2 separate regions of the Homo sapiens genome follow, and region 2 is linked to region 1. The links are contacts of gene promoters, found by promoter capture Hi-C in blood cells and fetal thymus (Javierre and others, 2016). All regions are on one chromosome and are shown on one strand. The core of a region is centred on a gene start or on the middle of the fragment in contact, and the rest is flanking DNA. Distances in the headings are between cores, read along the strand shown.

Region 1 (5,812 bases), core at 891-3,390:
GTTACAGGGATTATGGGATGGAGTTGGGACTGGAATCTACATCTTCTGACATCCAGTCCCATGGGATGCTGCCCCCCACCCAATCTTTCTCACCTTTGCACCATCCTAGGGAGATTGCAGAATTCTTTCCCACCCATTTTCTTACCCGTACAACAATCCTGCAATCCAGGCCTGGATGGTTATCTAGGAAAGTAAGGCCCAGAAGATAAGTGGCTTGTCCAGACCACCACACTCAAAATTGATGGATCAAAGACTTGAACTCGGCTGGGCGCGGTGGTTCATGCCTGTAATCCCAGCACTTTGGGAGGCCGAGGCGGACGAACACGAGGTGAGGAGTTCAAGACCAGCCTGGCCAATATGGTGAAACCCCGTCTCTACTAAAAATACAAAAATAAGTCGGGTGTGGTGGCCGGTGCCTGTAGTCCCAGCTACTAGGGAGGCTGAGGCAGAAGAATCACTTGAACTTGAGAAGCAGAGGTAGCAGTGAGCCGAGATCGCGCCACTACGCCCTAGCCTGAGTGACAGAGCGAGACTCCGTCTCAAAAAAAAAAAAAAAAAAAAAAAAAAAAAAAAAAAAAAAACACTTGATATCAAGTCTTAAGAGTGTGGAGCTGGTCTTTTTTTTTTTTTTTTTTGAGATGGAGTCTTGCTCTGTTGCCCAAACTAAAGTGCAGTGGTGCGATCTCAGCTCACTGCAACCTCCACCTCCAAGGTTCGAGAGGTTATCCTGCCTCAGCCTCCTGAGTAGCTGGGACTACAGGCATGCAGCCCCACACGCTACTAATTTTTGTATTTTTAGTAGAGACGGGGTTTCACCATGTTGGCCAGGCTGGTCTTGAACTCCTGGCCTCAGGTGGTCTGCCCGCATCAGCCTCCCAAAGTTCTGGGATTATAGGAGTGAGCCACCGTGCCCGGCCGTAAAGTGCATTTTCATCCACCAGATGAAGCCCTCCTCTGCCAGCGTTCTGCTTCCCCCCATCATTAGAGTGGCCAGATCCTAATTGTGCATGTCGGCCTTGCCTTCTGCTACATGTGCACCTTCCCCGCATTATGCAAATTCTGCTACATGTGCACCTTCCCCACATTATACAAATCCTTACCACAATGTTGTGAAACAATACTGGGCATGGGTTTCTCTCCCTGTTTCACAGATGGGTCTAGAGACTTACATGACTCAGCCAAGGTCACATTGCAACCCCTGGTATGGCCTAGAACAGGCTTTCTCAGTCTCAGCACCATTGACATTTGGGGCAGGGCGAGTCCTATTGCCCAGTGCATTGTCGGGTGTTTAGCAGCGTCTCTGCTCTCTGCTCCCTGCCCACTGGATGCCAATTTACATCAACCCCAGCCATGACAACCAAAATTCTCTCCAGATGTTGTCAAACGTCTCCTGGTGGGCTGAACCAGCCCCATTGAGAAATACTGCCTTAGAATGCTGTGGGCTCAGCATGCCACCTTAATCTTTTCATTGAAAACACAACTCCTGGCCGGGCATGGTGGCTCAGCCTGTAATCCTAGCACTTTGGGAGGCCGAGGCGAGCAGATCACTTGAGGCCAGGAGTTCGACACCAGCCTGGCCAACATGATGAGACCCCCCGTCTCTACTAAAAATACAAAAATTAGCCAGCAATGGTGGCACACACCTGTAATCCCAACTACTAGGGAGGCTGAAGCAGGGGAATTGCTTGAACCCAGGAGGCAGAGGTTGCAGTGAGCTGAGATCACGCCACTTCATTCCAGCCTGGGTGACAGAGCAAGACTCCATCTCAGAAAGAAAAAAGAAAGAAAGAAAGAAAGAAAACACAACTCCTCTCCTCAGTCTTACCCAGGGAGGGGAACAAAAACAAACAAACAAAAAAAAAAACAACTCCGAGCACCAACAATTAGTATTTTTCTTCCTTCCCTAACACACAACATAATCTCTTCAAAACAGATGGAACCCATATTCCAATATCTACCTTTGGCATCTTTTTCAAAGTATTTCTAGGGTGACATTTGGGAGGAAATGGGAAAAAAAAAATATTTGGACACAGCTCTTTTTTCCACTGGGCTTTGAGAAAACCCCATCTTGCGTGCTCTTACTGTATCTCTCACTGATAAGTCCGCTCATAAAACCAGGGCCTTATCCAGGGCCACGCTTACAGAACTCCCACGGACACACCATGATAAGGACGCTGCTGCTGTCCACTTTGGTGGCTGGAGGTAAGTCCTGTTACCCAGAGGCACTGGTTTCCCATGCCCTGGTGGGGCTGGAAATGGGATCTTCCTGTCCTCCCCTCTCGCCCCCACCCAACCCCTACTGCATTCAGACCTATAATCATAAGAACATTGGAATGGAGTTTCAAAGAATTGGAGCAAAGAGCAGGATTCTATGACCTCTTGGGATCCTTCTAGAACAAGGGTTTTCTATTTGGGGGGTCAGAATGCGCAGCAAGTGTAGTTTACATTGTGTGGGTCGCTGCTTCCTGACTCAAGACCCTTTCTCTTTTCACAGCCCTCAGTTGTGGGGACCCCACTTACCCACCTTATGTGACTAGGGTGGTTGGCGGTGAAGAAGCGAGGCCCAACAGCTGGCCCTGGCAGGTGAGTTGACCACACTGTACTTCTCCCCGTCCCTGCCCCACTCCCTTTACATCTCCCCTTTGCCCTTCCACCATGGCGTCTATTGTGCTGGCAAAGTGAGTATTGATGGGACTCAGAGAGCAGCACAGGCAACTTTAGCAATAAGATATATTTCCGGCTGGGCGCAGTGGCTCATGCCTGTTATCCCAGCACTGTGGGAGGCTGTGGTGGGCAGATCACCTGAAGTCAGGAGTTTGAGACCAGCCTGGCCAACATGGTGAAACCTGCCTCTACTAATAATACACAAGTAGCCAGGTGTGGTGGCACACGCCTGTAATCCCAGCAACTGGGGAGGCTTAGGCAGGAGGATCGCTTGAACCCAGGAGGCAGAGGTTGCAGTGAGCTGAAATTGCACCACTGTACTCCAGCCTGGGCAACAAAGCAAGACTCTGTCTCAAAAAAAAAAAAAAAGATACATTTCTGTGGCCTTGGCCAACCTTGGGAGTGGAGGGAGAGGTGCCTCCTCCAGCTGCAGTAAGGAGCTGTCCCCTCCCCACTGCCCATAGGCAGCAAATATAGTATTACTCTATTAACCAATCAGAGGCTTGTTTACAAATGTACCATCAGTCTAGGAACCATTCAAGACTACCTATGCAAACATTCCTTGCTTTAAGGAACCAATCAGTGCTATTTGCGCAGATTAATCTTTAACCACAGGCAAATCAATGTTACCAATGAAAAAAATGTTTTCTTAAGTTGATATAATCATAGTGGTATCAAGACTAAACTGCCAAGTGGGGCACAGGTGTAAATTACTCAGACGTGTTAATGGTGGGGATTTTAAGAGAAATGTGTAAAGTTTACATTGACATAAACAAATATAGTGAAATCTCATTTATCTGATGTAATTGGGACCGAGTAATTGAAAAGTTGGTTATAAAGAAATTATTTTAAATCATATATATATAGTAAAGATTTTATCTTAGACTATGTAAACAATTTTTTGAGTTCTTAACTGTCTTTTTCATATAAGCCATGCCCCATATCTTATCTACAAACCCGTTTCTTTAAAGCAGAGCAGTAACTTTGAGACGTTCACAAAGCAATCTGAGTTATGAGCCCATCCAATCTTTCCATTTTCTCACAGACACTACTTCAAGAGCAATTTTTTAAGAGTCATGGTGATCCAGTCTCTTCCAAGCATTTAACTTTGTTTCCATATAAATAACGACTCTCTTTCTGAACTCATATTTCATTGGTTACATGTTTAATCAAATTTCATTATTACAAGCATAATTGATATAAACTGCTTTGGGAGCAAACCCAGCTGAATCAGGATGAGTTTCTACCTTAAGTAGGAGGAGCAACTAGCAGCCCACTAGCCTTGAGCATTCAGAGTGACCCATGCAGCAGTCACTGTGTTTAGAGAGGCCAGCGTTCATTCATCTGCTCCTTGATTAAGAGACTGTCAATGATAGGCCAGGCGTGGTGGCTCATGCCTGTAATCCCAGCACTTTGGCAGGCCGAGGCAGGTGGATCACCTGAGGTCAGGAGTTTGAGACCAGCCTGGCCAACATGGTGAAACTCTGCCTCTACTAAAAATACAAAAATTAGCCAGGCATGGTGGCGGGCACCTGTAGTCCCAGCTACTTGGGAGGCTGAGGCACAAGAATCGCTTGAACCTGGGAGGCGCAGGTTGCGGTGAGCCAAGATCACACCTCTGCACTCCAGCCTGGGTGACAGAGTGAGATCCATAAAAAAAAAAAAAAAAAAAAAAAAAAAAAAAAAAAAAAAAAAAAAAAAAGACTGTCAACGATAGAATGATGGCAGATATTTCACATTTTTTTCTTTTTTTGAGACAGAGTCTTGCTCTGTCACCCAGGCTGGAGTGCAGTGGCACAATCATAGCTCACTGCAGCCTCCAACTCCTGGGCTCTGGCCATCTACCTGCCTCAGCCTCCCAAAGTGCTGGGATTACAGGCACCCACCACTGTGCTCACCCATAGTAATTTTTTTTTTTTTTTGAGACAGTGTCACATTCTGTCACCCAGGCTGGAGTACAGTGGCTGGTGAAACATGGCTCACAGCGGCCTCGAACTCCTAGGCTCAAGCGATCCTCCCACCTCAGCCTCCCTATCAGCTGAGACCACAGGTGCATGCCCCCACACCCGGTTAAGTTTCTTTTTTTTTTTTTAGAGATGGGTCTCACTATGTTGCCCAGGCTGGTCTTGAACTTCTGGGCTCAAGTGATCCTCCTGCGTCGGCCTCCCAAAGTGCTGGGATCACAGGCGTGAGCCTCTCAACCCAGCCTCACAATTTATATACTTGGCTTTGTGTGCTTTTGCCAGTTCTTTTGCTTTTCTCACAGTCCCACAGTATTTTTTCCCTGAGAATTTGGAAGAAGGGCCACAGTCCCTCTGCTACAGGGCCCCATAACACCGGGCGCATTTGTGCTAAGAACTAATCATTGCTGCCTACAAAAATACTTCCTCACCCTCTTGCACAAAAGTATTCTTGCCTTGAGAACCAGTGAATGTTAATCCATGAAGAGTCCCTATGCTTTGTGCTTCTGTTTCCCTGCGGAAATAAGGCAGATCTAGCTGGGTGGGGACTCAGATGAGGCAAGTAAGACATTCACTCTGGAGGCAAAATGTAAGGGGGTAGCACAAAACTCAGCAACCAGCCAGGAACAGTGGCACACACCTTTAATCCCAGCTATTCAAGGGGCTGAGGCAGGAGGATTGCTTGAGCCCAAGAGTTTGAGACCAGCATGGGCAACATAGATAGCCATCTCAAAAAAAAAAAAAAAATACAAACAAACAAAAAACCTCACTAACGAAGATGAATGATATTTTAATGCAATTTTGTTTCTTCTCCAGGAGACAGAGTCTCATTCTGTCACCCAGGCTTAATTACAGTATGAGTCACCCTGAGAGCCCTGCACAGTGGCTTATGTTCCCCATTTCCAGAGAAGGCAACTGGGACTTGGAAAGGTTACAGAATTCCCCAAAGGCACTGGGTTAGCCCGGGGGGCGAATGAGGATTCAAATCTGGTTCAGTGCTACCTCTTTAGCTACACTTTGCTGGCCACACATAATACGTATTATGTGGGCTAAATTTCACATCTGTACGATGGTTTCAGCACATTTTTAAATTGGGGGGGGGGTACATCCTTTTAAGTATCTTTTTTCACTTTTTCTAATTTTAAACATCTTTTTTAAGACCTCTTAATGTCACACAAACGAGAAAT
Region 2 (5,978 bases), core at 1,258-3,757, 210 kb before region 1:
AAAGAAATTCCTGCTTTCATGGAGTTTAGATTCTACCAGGGGTCAGGGAGGGAGACACAATAAATAACATAAATAAATAAAGAAATAGTATGTGAGTTGATGATAAGTGATGTATTAGTCCATTTGTGTTGCTATCAAGTAATACCTGAGGCTGTGTCATTTATCCAGAAAAGAGGTTTATTTGGCTCACAGTTCTGCAGGTTGTACAAGAAGCATGGTGCCAGCATCTGCCTCTGGTGAGGGTCTCAGGCTGCTTCCACTCCTGGCAGAAAGTAGCGCCTGCATGTGCAGAGATCACATGATGAGAGAGGAAGTGAGAGTGAGCGAGGGGGAGGTGCCAGGCTCTTTCTAACAATCAGCTCTTTAGGAAACTGATAGAGTGAGAACTCATGCACCCTACAGGAACAGCACCAAGCCATCCATGAGGGATTCGCCCGCATGATCCAAGCACCTCCCGCCAGGCCCCACCTCCAACACTGAGGAGCAAATTTCAACATGAGATTTGGAGGGGTCAAATATTCTAACTATAGCAAGTGGCAAAAAGAAGGGAAGAGGGATAGAGTGTTGAGGTTTTTATTTTGTTTGGATGTGCTTTTGTTGTTCTTATTTTTATTTGCTTTTGTTGTTCTTATTTTTATTTGCTTTTGCTGTTCTTATTGTTTTTATTTGCTCTTTTTTGTTGTTTATTAGATTTCATGGTGGTTGTTTCATTGTTTCAAAAAACCAATTTTAGAAAAGATGATATGTGAGTAAAAAGCTAAAGTAAAGAAGGCAAAGGAGACTCTTGAGGGGAAGTGCATTCCAGGCAGAGGAATGGGCAAGAGCAAAGGCTCTGAGGCAGAAACGTGTGGGAAGCTGAGCTTGACCCTCTCTGTTCCTGTGAAGCCATCACTTGGGTCCCAGCCCTTGTGGTCCCTCCTAACATTTTACGCCTAGAATCTTTCTGGTTGTAGGAAACTGATCCAGGCAGAACCTTCCAGACTGAGGGCCTGGAAGAGATTTGTAGGGACAGGCTCCGGGAGAGGTCTCTGCAGTTCAGCTGCATAAATCAGGGTTTTGTCAAGCTTGTTGCAAATGCACATTCCTGGATTATGTCCCAGGCCTGCTAAATCAGAATCTCTGGGGTCTGTGCCCAGAAGTCCGCATTTCTAAAAGCCTCCAGGCACGTTTGAGCATCTTCACTGTATATTCCACCACAAATCGATGTCCATGATTTCTCTCTCAGATCCTCTTCCTATTGACTAGGTGTATTAGTCTGTTCTCACACTGCTATAAAGTAATTCCTTGAGACTGAATAATTTACAAAGAAAAGAAGTTTAATTGACTCACAGTTCTGCACTGCTAGGGAGGCCTCAGGAAACTTACAGTTATGGCGGAAGGCCAAGGGGAAGCAAGGAAGCTAGCATGTTGTAACATGGTGTAGCAGGAGAGAGAGAGAGCAAAGGGGGAAGTGCCACACTTTTAAACCATCAGATCTCATGAGAACTCACTCGCTATCATGAGAAAAGCAAGCGGGAAGTCTGCCCCCATGATTCAATCACCTCCCACCAGGCCCCTCTTCCAACACGTGGGGAGTGCAATTCGAGATGAAATTTGGGTGGGGACACACAGCCAAACCGTATCACTAGGGTAGAATGTGCCATAGTTCATCTCTCTTAGAAAAACGTTTAGAGTTTTTCTTGAGGTGTCTGGTCAGCCATTTCCTGCCAGTGAAAGGAATCACTCTCCAGGTAGAGTCAGCAGGAGATAGGATTTCCTGCTGGAGATAGTGGCGGGAGATAGGATTTGCACATCTGCTCAACACACTCCATCCCGCGAGTCCTGTGCCGGCTGACAAGCGGTTTCTTAAGGACAGTAACTGTTCCAGGTGTATTCTGGGATCAGCGTGTGACACTCATAGGACTCAAAAGATGTTTGCAGAGATAGAGAAAGGGCAAAAGAATGAATAAATGTCACTCTTAACAGGGAGGAGCAGAGGCAGCAGGATTGTGAGTTTGGAAATATTTTTTCCCCAGCACATGGAAGAAATCCTCATTCTTTCAAAATTTTTCATTCCACCCCATCCCTTTCCCAATCCCCACCCCACTCCCAGAGATCCCCTCTTCTTACTCTTTCTATTTTCTGGCCTGTAACGGAAAGGACTAGAGATTTGGGTAGGGCAGGGGGCATACTAACCTCCAAGGGTCTCATGAGTTCAGCTCCATCAATCTCCTACCTCTCCCTATCGCCCCCGACCCTCCCTCAACGCATCCAGCTTACAGTGAGGGGTAATGGAAAGGATTCTTGAATCAAATCTCCTCCCTGCTCCTTCCTCGCTGTAAAACCTTGGGCCATTTCTGTGACCTCTGAGCCTCCGCTTTCCTATCTGTGAAATGGGGCAGGCTCGTGGGGCCTGGAGCATTCAGCAGGCGGTAACCCAGTGGGCGTTCCCTGCACGGTGCCACGCCCCCTCTGCCGCGCAGGCCACGCCCTCATCTATTAGGCTGGACCCCGCGGCGCCTGGCGGCGTTGCCATGGCAACGCGCGTACACAGGCCGGCCGGGCGGGCGGGGTGCCGGGTGCGAGCTGGAGACTCCGCGGGAGCGCGGCCGGGAGGCTTCGCCCCGGAGCTGGCCCGACGCCTCCCGAGCTGGCAGGGCTCTCGGCGGAGGTCGGAGCGTGGGCTTCCTCCTCCCGCCAGGTGAGTGCGGCGCGGGAAGGGGTGGCGGGCCGAGACCGGGGACCGGAAGGGGCGGCCCAGCGAGGACTAGCCCTGGCAGGAGGAGGGGTGGCTCCCCGGCCCCATCCTCCTGGATCCAGGCTCCGGTCCCCAGGAGCACCCCAGTAGCTACCCCAACACCAGCCCCTCCTTTCCAGATGCAGGCCCCACCCCGCCCGCGGAGGAAGCCCCCGGGAGCCTTAGACCCTCCTTGGCACCAGCCATGCCACTCTGGGAAGTCCTGGGGGTTACAGCTGGGATTAGGAGGGGCATCCCTGCTGCCCCTGACTTACGAACGACACCCACCCGGCGGTCAGAGAGACTCCCCCCTTGCCTAACCTCTCCCTTCCCAAATACAACACTGAGGAATTTCTAGGGCTCCCAGGCCACTTAAGATCTGGTAACCCCTCAACAGAAATTTTGCTTCTCTATCTCACTTGTGACCTATAAGCAGGGAGTGCAGATGCCTGAAGCTCTTTTGCTCTTTTGCATGGTCGGTGCCCTGTGTCTTAGAACTAATTTACAGAGTTTAACGCATCTAATCACTTTCTACAGTGTTTTCAGGTAGGAAAGTGACTGCACAGGGCAAGATTAAAGTGGGGAAATAGGGCCCAACCCATTCAGCTAAAGAAATAGACTTTTTTTTTTTTTTCCAGAATGTCATCTAGGATAAATACTGAAGGGGAAAATGAAAGGTAGTTACTGTCAGAGGTTCTTAGGCTACCCTGACTTACTTTTAAGCATTGTTTTGTACTTTCATTCATTCATGATTTACTGAGCACCACTATGTGTCAGGCATGGCAGCGCTGGGGGCCAGAGGGGAGTAATGAACAGACTGTGAGGAAATGCAAAGGGTCTGAGATTTTTACACTACTTGCAAGCTAAGTTAGCCTGCCACTGCTTAATGATGCTAGCAGAAGACCAGAGACTCCAGGACCAGAGACAAAGGATGTTATTACTCACAGCACAGCAGGCACTGTGAGCTCATGTTTGCGTTGGTTCCCCTTGCCCTGCAAGTACCCCGGGGTGATGCAGGACAGCTCAGGTGGATGCTGTGCACACTGCGAGTCTGTTTCCCAGCTAAGGAACCCCAAGCTCAGGAAACTCCAGTCTTTTAAAAGGGGCTGCTAGCCAGTGCCCAACCTTTGCCCTGGAAGGAGATGACCTTTTTTTTTTTTTTTTAATTGAGACAGAGTCTTGCTCTGTCTCCCAAGCTAGATAGAGTGCAGTGGCACAATCTCAGCTCACTGCAACCTCTGCTGCACGGTTTCAAGTGATTCTCCTGCCTCAGACTTCCGATTAGCTGGGACTACAGGTGCAAGCCACCATGCCCGGCTAATTTTTTTGTGTTTTTAGTAGAGACAGGGTTTCGCCATGTTGGCCAGGCTGGTCTCAAACTCCTGACCTCAGGTGATCCGTCCACCTGGGCCTCCCAAAGTGCTAGGATTACAGGCATGAGCCACCGTGCCCAGCCAGAGATGACATTTTTATCATAAATCTGCACTCTGCCCTGGATAGGGACACTATCCCTATCCTCTCAGGATATTTGCCCTACAGATGTCCTTGGAAGATTGTCTGGAACAAAATCTGTCAGTGTCTTTGCTCTGAAGATGGGTACAAACACAGGAAACCCATGGAGAATTGAGTTTAACAAAAACAACACAGTTTGGGCTCTCTTGGAACGTATCTCAGTGAAAGGGAAACAGTAAACAGCTAAGTAAAGAACAAGAAAATGACAGAGAATGATAAGCTCAAGGAAGGAGCCACAGCAGTGACACATGCTAGCTAGACAACAAAGTGACTGGTGACGCCTTTAGCTGGGGTGGTCAGGTAGCTACCGCAAGGCACCAGCTGTGGAAACATCGGGGGGAAGAGCTAAAAAAAAAAAAAAAGCCAGTCATTCAGATTTGGGGTTTTACTCTGGAGGCATTTCCTGTGGCTTTCCCACAAAAGAGACATTTCTCGAAAGTTGACTTTAGATTACTTTTACTTTAGTTTGGATGTGGTGCTTGATGATGTAGTCCTCTGCAATTGAAGATTAATAACTCAGGCAATTTGAGGGCAACAGGGCATGGTTCTTTTGGAAAAAGAAGTGTCTTTTTATCCCTATTAAAGACAGCAGACTTAAAAATAAAATTCTCATTATATGAAAGTATTAATATTTCTGAGGATTTCTCATAGGCTTCGGAATTTACAAACATAAACTATCTGGCTTGTTTTTATTTCTCTTACTCCCAAGGGTCTTTTCTTTTTTTGCAGAGGATAGAATTCTGGTGTTAAGGGCTATCTGTTATTTCATGTCCTAAGTGTCAACAAAACAGTGACAACCCCACTATCCCAAGTGACAACCTCTCCCTCCCCCCACTCAGTCACTCTCTCTGCTCCCCCATCCCATCCCCTCCCCACCCAGCAGTGATGGAGGTGTGAAAAGTTGAGCTGCCTGAGGATTATGTAGTGGTGACATGCAATGGCAATCTCCCTGCCCGAATGCTAGGGGACCTTAACCTCTCTGCATCTCAGTCTCCTTTTCTGTAAAGTAGGGACAATAATGACACCCACCTTGCAGGGTTTCTCTGAGGATGAAAAGAGTATATTCAAGGAAAAGTGCCTGGCACTTACTAAGGACTCCATAAATGATGATAGAGATGATGATGAAAAGCAGAGCCAGCCCCGAGAGTCCGTACCACCACAACTAGTTGATTTTTGTTTTTACCCATAGTCCAATAATTTGTCATTTCACTGACTTTTCAATTGAATGGAAAAGAGAGAGACTGTTGTTGTTCTTTGACAAGGAATTGAGGTGGAGGATATCACACTGCATCTTTAGACGTAATCTCAAATCGGATTCAAGCATCGAGATGAATTACTGTCAATATTTTAGAACTTTCTGAAGTCACTGAAGTGTTTGTCTTAAAAGATGTGTATAGAACTTATTTCGAAATGCACCACAATATAAAATGGATGGACACACGGATAGATGGAAAGATCTGTGATAAAGCAAATATGGCAAAATGCCGATGGTAGAATCTAGTGGTGGGTACATAGGAGCTCATTATCTGCTTCTTTCAGCCTCTCTGTATGTTTGACATTTTTATAGTAAAATGCTGGGGGGAATACTGTGCAGGGTCCTGATTACATGGCTGAGCTATAATCTTGATATTTTGCCTTTAGAAGTAATCTTTTTTCCCCTAACTAAATAAATGAAGAAATACAGCGATTTAAAAAGAAAAACATCATCTAATGCCTGCCTCTCCAATGATAACTCTTTAAGAAACTCCAA

The links. The method cuts DNA at HindIII sites, captures the fragments that hold promoters and counts their contacts. A CHiCAGO score of 5 or more calls a contact.
Region 2: a contact is called between the fragment with the promoter of FHAD1 here and the fragment with the promoter of CELA2A in region 1, in 3 of 17 cell types (erythroblasts, total CD8 T cells and total B cells). The highest score is 5.5, in erythroblasts.

What each region holds. Positions count from the first base shown.
Region 1 is chr1:15,454,592-15,460,403 of GRCh38, forward strand. CELA2A (chymotrypsin like elastase 2A) reads left to right here and starts at 2,141. Exons shown (of 8, transcript NM_033440.3): 1 at 2,141-2,202; 2 at 2,495-2,583. The coding sequence starts at 2,163. The HindIII fragment of the contact is 8,750 bases long and covers 1-5,812 here.
Region 2 is chr1:15,244,716-15,250,693 of GRCh38, forward strand. It overlaps FHAD1 (forkhead associated phosphopeptide binding domain 1), which reads left to right and starts at 2,508. Exons shown (of 34, transcript NM_001391957.1): 1 at 2,508-2,680. RefSeq lists silencers at 2,343-2,516, 2,534-2,773. The HindIII fragment of the contact is 5,643 bases long and covers 1,063-5,978 here.